Regions from separate parts of the Homo sapiens genome. Here all the other regions are linked to region 1. The links are contacts of gene promoters, found by promoter capture Hi-C in human tissues and cell types (Jung and others, 2019). All regions are on one chromosome and are shown on one strand. Each heading gives the region's core, a stretch centred on a gene start or on the middle of the fragment in contact. The rest is flanking DNA. Distances are from core to core; before and after follow the strand shown. Region 1 holds the start of SPTBN5 (spectrin beta, non-erythrocytic 5). Region 2 overlaps MGA (MAX dimerization protein MGA). Region 3 overlaps MGA (MAX dimerization protein MGA).

The links. The method cuts DNA at HindIII sites, captures the fragments that hold promoters and counts their contacts. A contact is called where the count stands out against the background at its distance.
Region 2: a contact is called between a fragment that was not itself captured here and the fragment with the promoter of SPTBN5 in region 1, in 3 of the 25 tissues and cell types used here (bladder, dorsolateral prefrontal cortex and spleen).
Region 3: a contact is called between a fragment that was not itself captured here and the fragment with the promoter of SPTBN5 in region 1, in 4 of the 25 tissues and cell types used here (H1 embryonic stem cells, dorsolateral prefrontal cortex, mesendoderm cells and 1 more).

What each region holds. Positions count from the first base shown.
Region 1 is chr15:41,891,687-41,895,412 of GRCh38, forward strand. It overlaps SPTBN5 (spectrin beta, non-erythrocytic 5), which reads right to left and starts at 2,367. Exons shown (of 68, transcript NM_016642.4): 1 at 2,213-2,367; 2 at 1,596-1,860; 3 at 1,208-1,375. The coding sequence starts at 1,811. It overlaps LOC105370792 (a long non-coding RNA gene), which reads left to right and starts at 1,091. Exons shown (of 4, transcript NR_135681.1): 1 at 1,091-1,392; 2 at 3,541-3,650. RefSeq lists an enhancer at 1,152-1,211. The HindIII fragment of the contact is 14,752 bases long and covers 1-3,726 here.
Region 2 is chr15:41,749,039-41,752,409 of GRCh38, forward strand. MGA (MAX dimerization protein MGA) reads left to right here. Exons shown (of 24, transcript NM_001400225.1): 17 at 73-1,577. Among named protein-coding and RNA genes, the nearest start is that of MAPKBP1, 24 kb to the right of the region's middle. The HindIII fragment of the contact is 7,681 bases long and covers 1-3,371 here.
Region 3 is chr15:41,732,864-41,736,547 of GRCh38, forward strand. It overlaps MGA (MAX dimerization protein MGA), which reads left to right. Exons shown (of 24, transcript NM_001400225.1): 12 at 1,659-1,731; 13 at 3,318-3,684. Among named protein-coding and RNA genes, the nearest start is that of MAPKBP1, 40 kb to the right of the region's middle. The HindIII fragment of the contact is 3,107 bases long and covers 290-3,396 here.

The DNA.
Region 1 (3,726 bases), core at 1,117-3,616:
CCTTGAGGTGGGGGTCTGGGCTTTGCTTAGTGGAGCCCAGCGCCTGCATAGAATGCCCAGGGCATGGGAGCATCTCCATAAGCGAATGCATCCCTCATTCTGCCACACATTCCCTGTGTGTTTGCGGCAACTCCGTCATCCTTTCTAGACCACAGTTGCCTCCTATGTGTATGGAGACAAGGATGTCACCCTCACAGGTATCAGTGACATGCTGTATATTAAAGCTTGGGGAGAGCTGCAACACCTCTGACAAAGGCTGTGGGGCTTACACCCTTCCCCAGTTCCTGGAGGGGAGATGACTGGCTCACAGGGTCATTGTCCCTGGATCAACTAGGGCCCAGCATTCTGCAGCTGGCAGCGTTCTGCTCTTGCACCTGCTCAGGACAGCAGTCACTCCCATTCCCTTTGCTTGGGCTTCTCCCCTCCCTGGCTTTCCTCCAACACACCCCAGGAGGCTGGATGTAAGCTCCACTCCAGGATATAGTGATAGGCACGCACAGTCAGGCTCCATCCAGCCAGGCCCAGCTCAGTGACTTCACAGCCTCCAGGGACAGCCACCTCCAGGAGCCCTTGGCCTTCACAGTTCCCGGTTTCCAATGATCCCTTTGCCCCACCCCACCCCTGCACCAGCCCCTCACCCTGGCCATGAGGGTCCCTCTGTCCCTGGAGCTCCGGCCTCCTTTTAGTGCCCATCTCCTTAGCCTGTCCCTTTCTTTCAGGTGACTCTGCCTCCCCCCATTTGCTGAGGCCTCCTCCCTCCTTCTCCAAGACAGGCCCTGCTCCTCTTCCCCACCTGCCGTCTTAGTCCCACATCTGGGCTCTGTTGGCTGGTTAACCATCGATCTTGCCTGGTAAATAATTCAGGGCCTCTGTTTCCTCATCTGTGAAATGAAAAGCCTAAGAGAACGCTAAGATTCTTTTGGCCTAGAATCCTGTGAGTCTCTCTTATGACAGACAGTGACATTTTCCACCCCAGTAGGGACCTGGATTGCTACTGCCATGGCCAGCTGGGTGCTCTCCAAGTCAGGGGTGCTGTGCGAGGAGGGCGTGGCTTCTGCTCCTCTGTGTCCCAGCCACTCCTCCTGTACTCAGGCCCCAGCTCCTCTGTTCTGCCCAGTGGCCTGGCGCAGGAAAGGTGACCCAGTAGTTCAGCCTGTCCCAGCTGCCTGCCCCAGCACCATCCCAGACCCCTTTCCCTGGGGCCCACCTTGGCCCTGAGGAAGGCCAGAGCTCGGCTGCTGTTCTCCAGGAAGTGCACACGCAGGCGGCCCCGGCTCGGGGGTGGCAGGGCCTCCCCTGAGATGAGCTCCAGCAGCCGCAGGAGGTGGATGCCGTCAGCCAGCTCTGTGTACAGGTTCCGGATCTTGATGCCCGCCTGGGGAGGGGACAGGGGTAAGTATGGGGTCAGCCCAGCCTCACCTGTCCTCCCATCCTGGGACCTGAGAGGTACGACCCAGAGCAGCTGCTTTGGAAGAAGGAGCTCTGGCCTCAGCTTGGCCTCAGGCAGATGACCCCACAGCTCACCCCGGAGGCCCACTGGCCAGAGCTGGGGGCCTGGTATGGGTGGGCTGTGGGTCACAGCTGGCTATACTCACCTGGCCGCACTGGAAGACGTTATTGATCCACTTGGTGAAAGTCTTCTCCTGCATCTGCATGTGCCGGGCCTGTAGCTTGCGAATGTGGCCCGTCTCGTACTGAGAGTCCATGGTGAGACTTGGACTGGGCGGGACCCGGAGTTCTGTGCTGGGCCTCCTGCTGCGGTGCCCTGCAGCCCCGAGGAGCTCCCGGGGACTGTGGGGCTGACCAGCCATCAGCCCTGCAGACTTTGGGGATGAGGAGCTGCTGGATGGCTCCCTAAACCTGGAGGGCATGCAGATTAGGGGATGATGTGAATGGAGATGGCCCCTCTACCAGGGGCCTGGGGTCCCGCCTTGCCAGACTGTCCTCACATTTCATGGGGGTTGCAGCTTGGAGCCCAGCCAGGTAAGGGCCAGTGCTTCTGGTCCCCTGTGCTTGAATGGCCCAGGGCCCCCTTTGCCCCACCCCACCTTCCAGATTCTTCTTCTCAGAGCCCCTGCTGCCAGGTCCCTCCACCACAGTGACTGGGACAGGTGGAAGGAAGACAGGAAACTGCTTACCTTGGTGATGCCTGGGTCCCACAGAGACGGCTCTGCTGGACGGATGGAGATGGTAGATAGCAGGGGCTGCTTACCTTGGTGATGCCTGGGTTCCACAGAGGCGGCCCAGCTGGACGGATGGAGATGGCAGATAGCAGGGGCTGTGGAGGGAGGGAGAGGGACATCAGGAGAGGCCAAGGCTGGAGCAGGGCTGCACCACAGCCCTCCCCTTGAGCCAGCGTGCTGGGGTGACGGCACACAGGCGGCATTGTCCTCCCACCTGCCACAGGGCGTGGCCCAGACAGGGAGGGGGTGGTTCAGGAATGCTCCAGGGCCATTGCCAGATGATGTCCTCCTTCATCATCCTCCCTTCCCCGCCAGCAACTTCTCCAACTCCAGGTGGGGGTCCTGGCTCCCAGGACGCAGAGGCCCATGGAGCGGCCCTGCCACCGCATGGGGTGCTGCAGTCTGCGTAGGAGGTACCAAAGGGCAGAGCCTCTGTGGGAAGCCTGTGGACGCACTTCCCAATCTGAGACTGCCCTCTGTACCCTCTTGGGGCCTCTCTGTGAGCACCCAGGGCGAGGGGATGAGGGAGCGTCCTGGGCCGTGGTCTTCTCATTCACCCCCAGGGAACAGCCCATAGACTGAGGGCCTCACAGACCCTGGGCTTGGCTTTCCAGGCCCTGCCAGAGTGCAGCCTGCCTAGCCCGGGGCTGAAGGGTAGGCTCCCTGGAGGAAGGGGTGACCTGGAACTGCGAGGGCTGTGGAGTCTCCTCCAAAATTAGAGACACGGTGTTAACTCTGGGCTCCACAGAGCTGGCCGTGGCCCGGGGCTCGGAGGCAGGGGTGCAGAGGGAGCTGGTGGGCGCCCATCCCTTCCTCCCCGAGCAGCCGTGGACTACATGCCAGAGTGAAGGCGAGTTCTAATTCTGGGGGTCTCACCCGCCTCTGGCTAAACTCAGGGTAGCAGTGTGGGCTGGGGTGTGTGTGTGTGGGTGTCTTCCAGCGGCCCTGGAGCCTCTGAAGCGACAGCCCGCTCCTCAGGGAGGCGCTCCTGGCAGCCACAGCCCACAGCAGGACAGCCGCTCAGCGCGCCCTTGAGAGCTGGGCTAGGGATGAGTCACACTTGAACCGCCTGGGCCCACTGCAGGCAGTCAGGGGTGACGCTGAGAGGTGCCGTGGTCTCGGGTGGGGTGCGGCTTCCTGCGTCTGAGAGACGCTTCCTCTCCTGCTGTCCTCTCCCTGCCAGGCCCCTTCTGCAGCGGCTGGCTTCCAGACACCCTGCGTCCCTCCCTTGCTCGCAGCAGTTGCTGTGGCGGTCCTCCCGTGCACCCCCCCTTCTGCCCTCACTGCCCCTGGGGGTCCTCATCACGGACCCCCTAACTCGGCATCCTGGACACCACCACCCCGCACCTTTCCACAGTGCAGCTCTGCTCGTGCCTGTGAAGCCTCCCACAGCCTGGGAAGGAAAATCCAGACTTGCCAGACCTTGCCTCAGCCAGGCCTTGGAAGCCTGCCAGCTTACCTAACCAGGCTAGTCTGCCCCCCTCACTCTGGGTGCTCTCCATGGGCCACTCACCATTTCCTGAGCAGGACCAGAGCTCTCCTG
Region 2 (3,371 bases), core at 862-3,361, 140 kb before region 1:
GAAAAGCAAACATTGGAAGTCTTGATATGGGCAGTCATGATTTAAAAATTTCTCTCTTATTTTTTAAACCAGGGTCTGTGATGGGAATCCGGTTACCTGCTCCTTCCAAACCCTCTGAGACTCCGCCATCTTCCACTTCGTCCTCTGCTTTCTCTGTCATGAATCCTGTAATTCAAGCTGTTGGGTCTTCTTCAGCAGTGAATGTTATCACTCAGGCACCATCATTGCTTTCCTCTGGAGCTAGTTTTGTGTCTCAGGCTGGTACATTGACCCTGAGGATTTCTCCTCCTGAACCACAAAGCTTTGCAAGTAAAACAGGCTCTGAAACCAAAATAACTTATAGCTCAGGAGGACAGCCTGTTGGTACAGCCAGTCTTATTCCTCTCCAGTCTGGTAGTTTTGCCTTGTTACAGCTCCCAGGACAAAAGCCTGTTCCTAGCTCCATTCTTCAGCATGTTGCTTCCCTTCAGATGAAGAGAGAATCTCAGAATCCAGACCAGAAAGATGAAACAAACTCAATAAAAAGAGAGCAAGAAACGAAGAAGGTTCTACAGTCAGAAGGAGAGGCTGTAGACCCTGAGGCTAATGTAATAAAACAAAACTCAGGAGCTGCTACCTCAGAAGAAACTCTGAATGATTCCTTGGAAGATAGGGGTGATCATTTGGATGAAGAATGCCTTCCAGAAGAAGGTTGTGCAACTGTCAAACCATCTGAGCATTCCTGTATCACTGGGTCACATACAGATCAAGATTATAAAGATGTTAATGAAGAATATGGGGCTAGGAATCGTAAGAGTTCCAAAGAAAAAGTGGCTGTTCTGGAAGTTAGGACCATTTCTGAAAAAGCCAGTAATAAGACAGTCCAAAATTTAAGTAAAGTACAGCATCAAAAACTTGGTGATGTGAAGGTGGAACAGCAGAAAGGATTTGACAATCCAGAAGAAAACTCAAGTGAATTTCCAGTCACCTTTAAGGAAGAAAGTAAATTTGAATTGTCAGGAAGCAAAGTTATGGAGCAGCAATCTAATCTACAGCCAGAGGCCAAAGAGAAGGAATGTGGAGACTCTCTGGAGAAAGACAGGGAAAGATGGAGAAAACATCTGAAGGGCCCCTTAACCAGGAAATGTGTTGGAGCTTCACAGGAATGTAAGAAAGAGGCAGACGAGCAGTTAATTAAAGAAACAAAGACATGTCAGGAAAATTCAGATGTGTTTCAGCAAGAACAAGGCATCTCTGACTTACTTGGAAAAAGTGGAATTACTGAAGATGCCAGAGTTTTGAAAACTGAATGTGATTCTTGGAGTAGGATTTCTAATCCTTCAGCCTTCTCCATTGTTCCTAGGAGAGCTGCAAAAAGCAGCAGAGGGAATGGACATTTTCAGGGTCACTTACTGCTACCTGGAGAACAGATACAACCAAAGCAAGAGAAGAAGGGTGGGAGAAGCAGTGCTGACTTCACTGTTTTGGATTTGGAAGAAGATGATGAAGATGATAATGAGAAAACTGATGATTCTATTGATGAAATTGTGGATGTTGTTTCTGACTACCAGAGTGAGGAGGTTGATGATGTAGAAAAGGTGGTGAGCCCATTTTTGTTGTGACTGAAACCTAAAGGATTTAAATGATTTATTAAAGACAGAAGCTTTTTCAGAAGAGCACTAAGGCATAATACATTTAATTGGATGCCTAGGTTTAAGATTATGACTTAAATGGCTTAGTAGTTCTTTAGGCTGTGTCAATCAAGCATCATTTATTGAGCTTTTATTCTTTGAGACTTGTCTGGTTTTATGGGAAGGCTGGCTTAAATATTTGGGGGATAGGTGCTTGAGAGTCCCTACCGAGTTAGATTTTTAAAATCCCGAAACCACTACTCCCATTTGACCTCAGTCAATTTCTATGACGTTTTCTATGTGAGGTGGTTGTAGCTTCTCTGGTAGATGTTAATCAGAAACTGGGAATGGGTGACCTTAGAACTAGAGGAGAACTTATTCACTTGCATATAGAGAGATGTTTTTGTTTTTGGAGAAAAACTGGAAAATACCATCATATTCTAGTACCATTTTGCCTTGAGTTGCTTTTATATCCAAAAATTAAATATTTAGTCTCTGGAATTTATATTCTAGACTTTGGTCTTCGTCCTTTGTAATATGACCTTTATGGCCTATTTTTATTATTTTCCTGAAGTTTTTTTTATAGGATTCCTATTTAGGGTTGTTGTATTTACTTAAATAAGTAACTGTCAGGTATTGATACAGTGCAGGAGTTGTACAAACGTTTTCTGTAAAAGGCCAGATAGTAAATAGTTTTAGACTTTGCAGAGAGCTAGATGGCTCTCTGTTGCGACTAATTGACTGCTGTTGTAGTATAAAAGCAGCTGTATTCCATTAAAACTTTAGTAAAAAAGTCCAGGTGCGGTGGCTCACACCCATAATCCCAGCACTTTGGGAGGCCGAGGTGGGTGGATCACCTGACGTCAGGAGTTTGAGACTAGTCTGGCCAACATGACAAAACCCCGTGTCTACTAAAAATACAAAAAATTAGCCAGGTGTGGTGATGGGTGCCTGTAATCCCAGTACTCAGAACGCTGAGGCAGGAGAATCGCTTGAACCCGGGAGGCTGAGGTTGCAGTGAGCCCAGATCGCGCCATTGCACTCCAGCCTGGGCGACAAGAACAAAACTCTGTCTCGGGTTAAAAAAAAAAAAGAAGTTGTTAGTGGGCTGTGGTTTGCTGACCCCTGACATAAGGTCTGATGTAAAACATGGGGAGATCATAACCAGCTGCCTGTGGAGTGCCCTAAAATCTAAACTGTGTCCTTCTTTTCAGGAGCAGATGACAGCCGTCTGCACTGATTGTCATACAACTGCTTGTTTTACAATCTCACTTCCTTGAGATTCATTCTGCCTCTGTGTTATCTGGTCCTTTTCTGTTATTGCTTAACTGCTTTATGCACATAAAATAAGACAAAAAGATTACTGTTTTAAAAATCTAAAATGTTGAAATATTTTATTTTAGCGATGGAGTCTTACTCTGTCGCCCAGGCTGGAGTGCAGTGGTGCGAACTCAGCTCACTGCAACCTCCACCTCTGGGGCTCAAGCAATTCTCCTGCTTCAGCCTCCTGAGTAGCTGAGATTACAGGAGCCTGCCACCGCCCCAGCTAATTTTTGTATTTACGTAGAGATGGGGTTTCACCATCTTGGCCAGGCTGGTCTTAATGTTCTTATATTGGTTATTTGAGTACCTCCATTGTCTCATTTATAAAGGAGGATCTTGCTCTAAAATTGGATGATTCTGTATTCATTTGACTTATACCTTCTCTCCATAGCCTAATCTTTTTCAAGAATGGATGTAAATTCATTGACTTTAGGAGTT
Region 3 (3,684 bases), core at 593-3,092, 160 kb before region 1:
AAGATGAACCATTCAGACTCCTTTCCTAGGATTTTAAAAATTGGAACCAAGGGCTGCTCTGTCTATGGAGTAGCCATTTTTTTATTCCTCTACTTTTCTTTTTTCTTTTTTTAAAGACGGAGTCTCGCTCAGCCACCCAGGCTGGAGTGCAGTGGCGCTGTCTTGGTTCACTGCAACCACCGTCTCTGGGGTTCAAGTGATTCTCCCATCTCAGTCTCCCGAGTAGCTGGCATTACGGGCGGGTGCCACCATGCCCGGCTAATTTCTATGCTTTAGTTGAGACGGGGTTTTACCATGTTGGCCAGGCTGATCTTGAACTTCTGACCTCAGGTGATCCACCCACCTCGGCCTCCCAAAGTGCTGGATTACAGGCGTGAGCCACAACATCCAGCCTGTTCCTCTACTTTCTTAACTTGCTTTCACTTAAAAAAAAAATTGGAACTAAGGAAAGAGGGCAGTCTCTCCTGATTAGTGAAAGTGGAATGATAAAAGAGTCTAGGTGGCAGTCTGTCCAACCCATGGAGGATTATATGAGAAACTGAGGCACACATTCACAGATAATTTAAATAATAAGTTCTGATTCCAGTTACCCTTGTAGTTAGGCTACACCTCTTCCCTTTCCATGGTTCAGCTGATGGCTGGGGGCTCCACCTTCGCTTGTACTGCCACCTCAACATCAGTGGTGACTCCCCGGAAAACCACTAAAGGTATAAATCAGCAGTTTTCTTTTAAACAGCAATTTGTTAATGACAAAAACAAAAAAATTTAAATGTGCATATCTTTTTGACCCTAAATTGTAAGTGTACATAGCATGAGGGCACAAAGATATGTGCATGTATGTATGTTTACTCAAACATACGCATATATATAGCTGTTCAGTGCACTATTGCCCTTACTAATGAGAAATTGGAGGCAGAATGCCTGTTAATAGAGGATTTGATAAATTAAAAAGTATTATTCTTTCTGATCCTGGAGTAATTTTAAAAATTCTAGTTTTATTAATTTGTCTGTAATTATTAGGGTGTGCATCTTTCCACATTGGCAAATTTTGTTTCTTTCTTTTTTTTTTCGAGATAGGGCCTCACTCTGTCACCCAGGCTGAAGTGCAGTGGCATGGTCTCGGCTCACTGCAACCTTCAGCTCAAGCGATCCTTCTGTCTCAGCCTCCCAACCAACTGGGACTATAGGTGTGTGCCACCATTTGTGGCTAAGCTTTTGTATTTTTGGTATAGATGGGGTTTTGCCTTGTTGGCCAGGCTGGTTTGAACTCCTGGGCTCAAGTGATCTTCCCACCTCGGCCTCTCGGAATGCTGGGATTGCAGGCATGAGCCACCGAGACTGGCCTCAACTGGTGAATTTTCTGAATAACTGTAGTTTGTTTCATTTAACAGTAAATATGTTTCCCTCTTTAAAGTACAATGTGAATTTTTTTCTTGATGACTCAGTCACTATCAAGGACATTAGGTAGCAAAACTATGTGTTTTTACCCAGGGTTTTATATGATAGTAACGTAGATGTGCATGTGGATTGAAGCTGTTGACATTTCAGTCATTCTAATGATTTAAACTTCTGTGAGAGATTTAATGCTTGTGTCCAAGTTTCTGTGGGTATTGAATATATGTTAAGTTAAAGTATTTCTGTGTTACTGTCTCCTTCAGGAACCTGATTCTGAACAGCAGCCCTTAAAACAACTCACCTGTGACTTGGAGGATGATTCTGATAAATTACAAGGTCAGAATGAAAACTAGATCTTAACATTTGATAAAAATTATTTAGGTCTAGATTATAGTAATAATGGGAGAAAACCCAAACCATCAATTCAGAATATGTCTGCCTACCCTGTTTCAAACTTATGCCAAAAACAGGGACAATAAGTAAAAGTTTTTTTTCCCCATTATTTGGTCTGTTAACACTCCTGCTCTCAAAAATAAAAGAAAATTCATTCATGTTGATAAAGCATGTTGTTGCAAGAGACATTTAGGTTGAGGTCAGTGAGTTTTTTTTTTTTTAACCTCTTTCCAAACCCCAGTAATATTGGCATCATTAGCCTTTGGTCCTCCATCACTGCCACCTCTGGGGAAATCTAGAAGGAGAAAGGAAGGAATATTACTGTGATTTAGCTGGCAGAGGCTACTGTCAGAATTACTTTGATGACAGGTAGTGGTCAGGTGGTTACCAATTTGTTTTTGGTTATGCTTCCCGAGACTTCTGACACTTAAGCAGCAGGGCTTCCTAACTTCTTAAAAAACGTCATGGTACATACAAATAATTAACAATGTTTCTATAGCACATTGCGGTAAGTGGAGGAGGCTACTAGGGTGGAGGGAACCTGCCTGAGAGCGTGAGCACCCTGAGGATTATGGGGGCCCTTGACATACCAGTACACTCATTGGGAAGCTGTGCTAAAGAAATCCAGGAGTCTAGTGAAATACATGTCTAGTCAACATGTTGCCATGGAAAGAATACTTTGGGTAGTTGAGTGATCTGCAAACAGTGTAGAAATGGAGCAATCATATCTAGAAGCACAGAAGTAATTCAGAGGTATTTGCAGTAGAAATTAGAGTTAGAGTGCACTTAAAATCAGAATACTACAGCTGGGCGCAGTGGCTCACGCCTGTAATCCCAGCACTTTGGGAGGCCGAGGCGGGTGGATCATGAGGTCAAGAGATCCAAGACCATCCTGGCCAACATGGTGAAACCCCGTCTCTAGTAAAAATACAAAAATTAACTGGGCGTGGTGGCACGCGTCCATAATCTCAGCTACTCGGGAGGCTGAGGCAGGAGAACCACTTGAACCTGGGAGGCAGAGGTTGCAGTGAGCTATCACGCCTCTGCACTCCAGCCTGGCGACAGAGCTAGACTCCGTCTCAAAAAAAAAAAAAAATCAGAATACTATTTTTCTTGCTGTTCTTTTGGATTGACTCTAATCTGTACATGTTTCAAAGCATCTAGCAAGTAGTTTCACTTTGCCTGTATGTATAGCAAAATAGTAACCTATACCAGTGAAGCTTAACCTTGGTTGTAGGTCATGGTTTGTTTGCAAGCTAACTCTAATGTAATAATTGTGGCATTTAGAGTAGTGTTAAGGGAACTACCTGTTAGAGCCCAGTCAGCAGGATAATGAGGACTATTGTAGTCTTATTCTCTGGAACTTTTTCTTCCTGGAAAACTCCCAAATTGTGAAAGTTGATACATTTTAAGTTACTACTGTGAAAGAACGTGAGAATGTGACAGTTTTTTTTCAGAGTTTCATACAAAATGCTGTGATGCAGAAATAATCTTTCAACTTTTTCTTTTTTATTATTATTTTACATCAGAAAAGAGCTGGAAGTCTTCCTGCAATGAAGGAGAATCCTCTTCTACTTCTTATATGCATCAGAGGTCACCTGGTGGTCCCACCAAACTGATTGAGATCATCTCAGACTGCAACTGGGAGGAAGATCGGAACAAGATTTTGAGCATCTTATCCCAGCACATCAATAGCAACATGCCACAATCACTTAAGGTGGGCAGCTTCATCATTGAGTTGGCTTCTCAGCGAAAGAGCCGGGGTGAGAAGAACCCTCCTGTTTATTCTTCTCGTGTGAAAATCTCTATGCCATCATGTCAAGACCAAGATGATATGGCTGAGAAATCTGGATCAGAGACTCCTGATGGTCCATTGTCCCCTGGGAAAATGGAGGA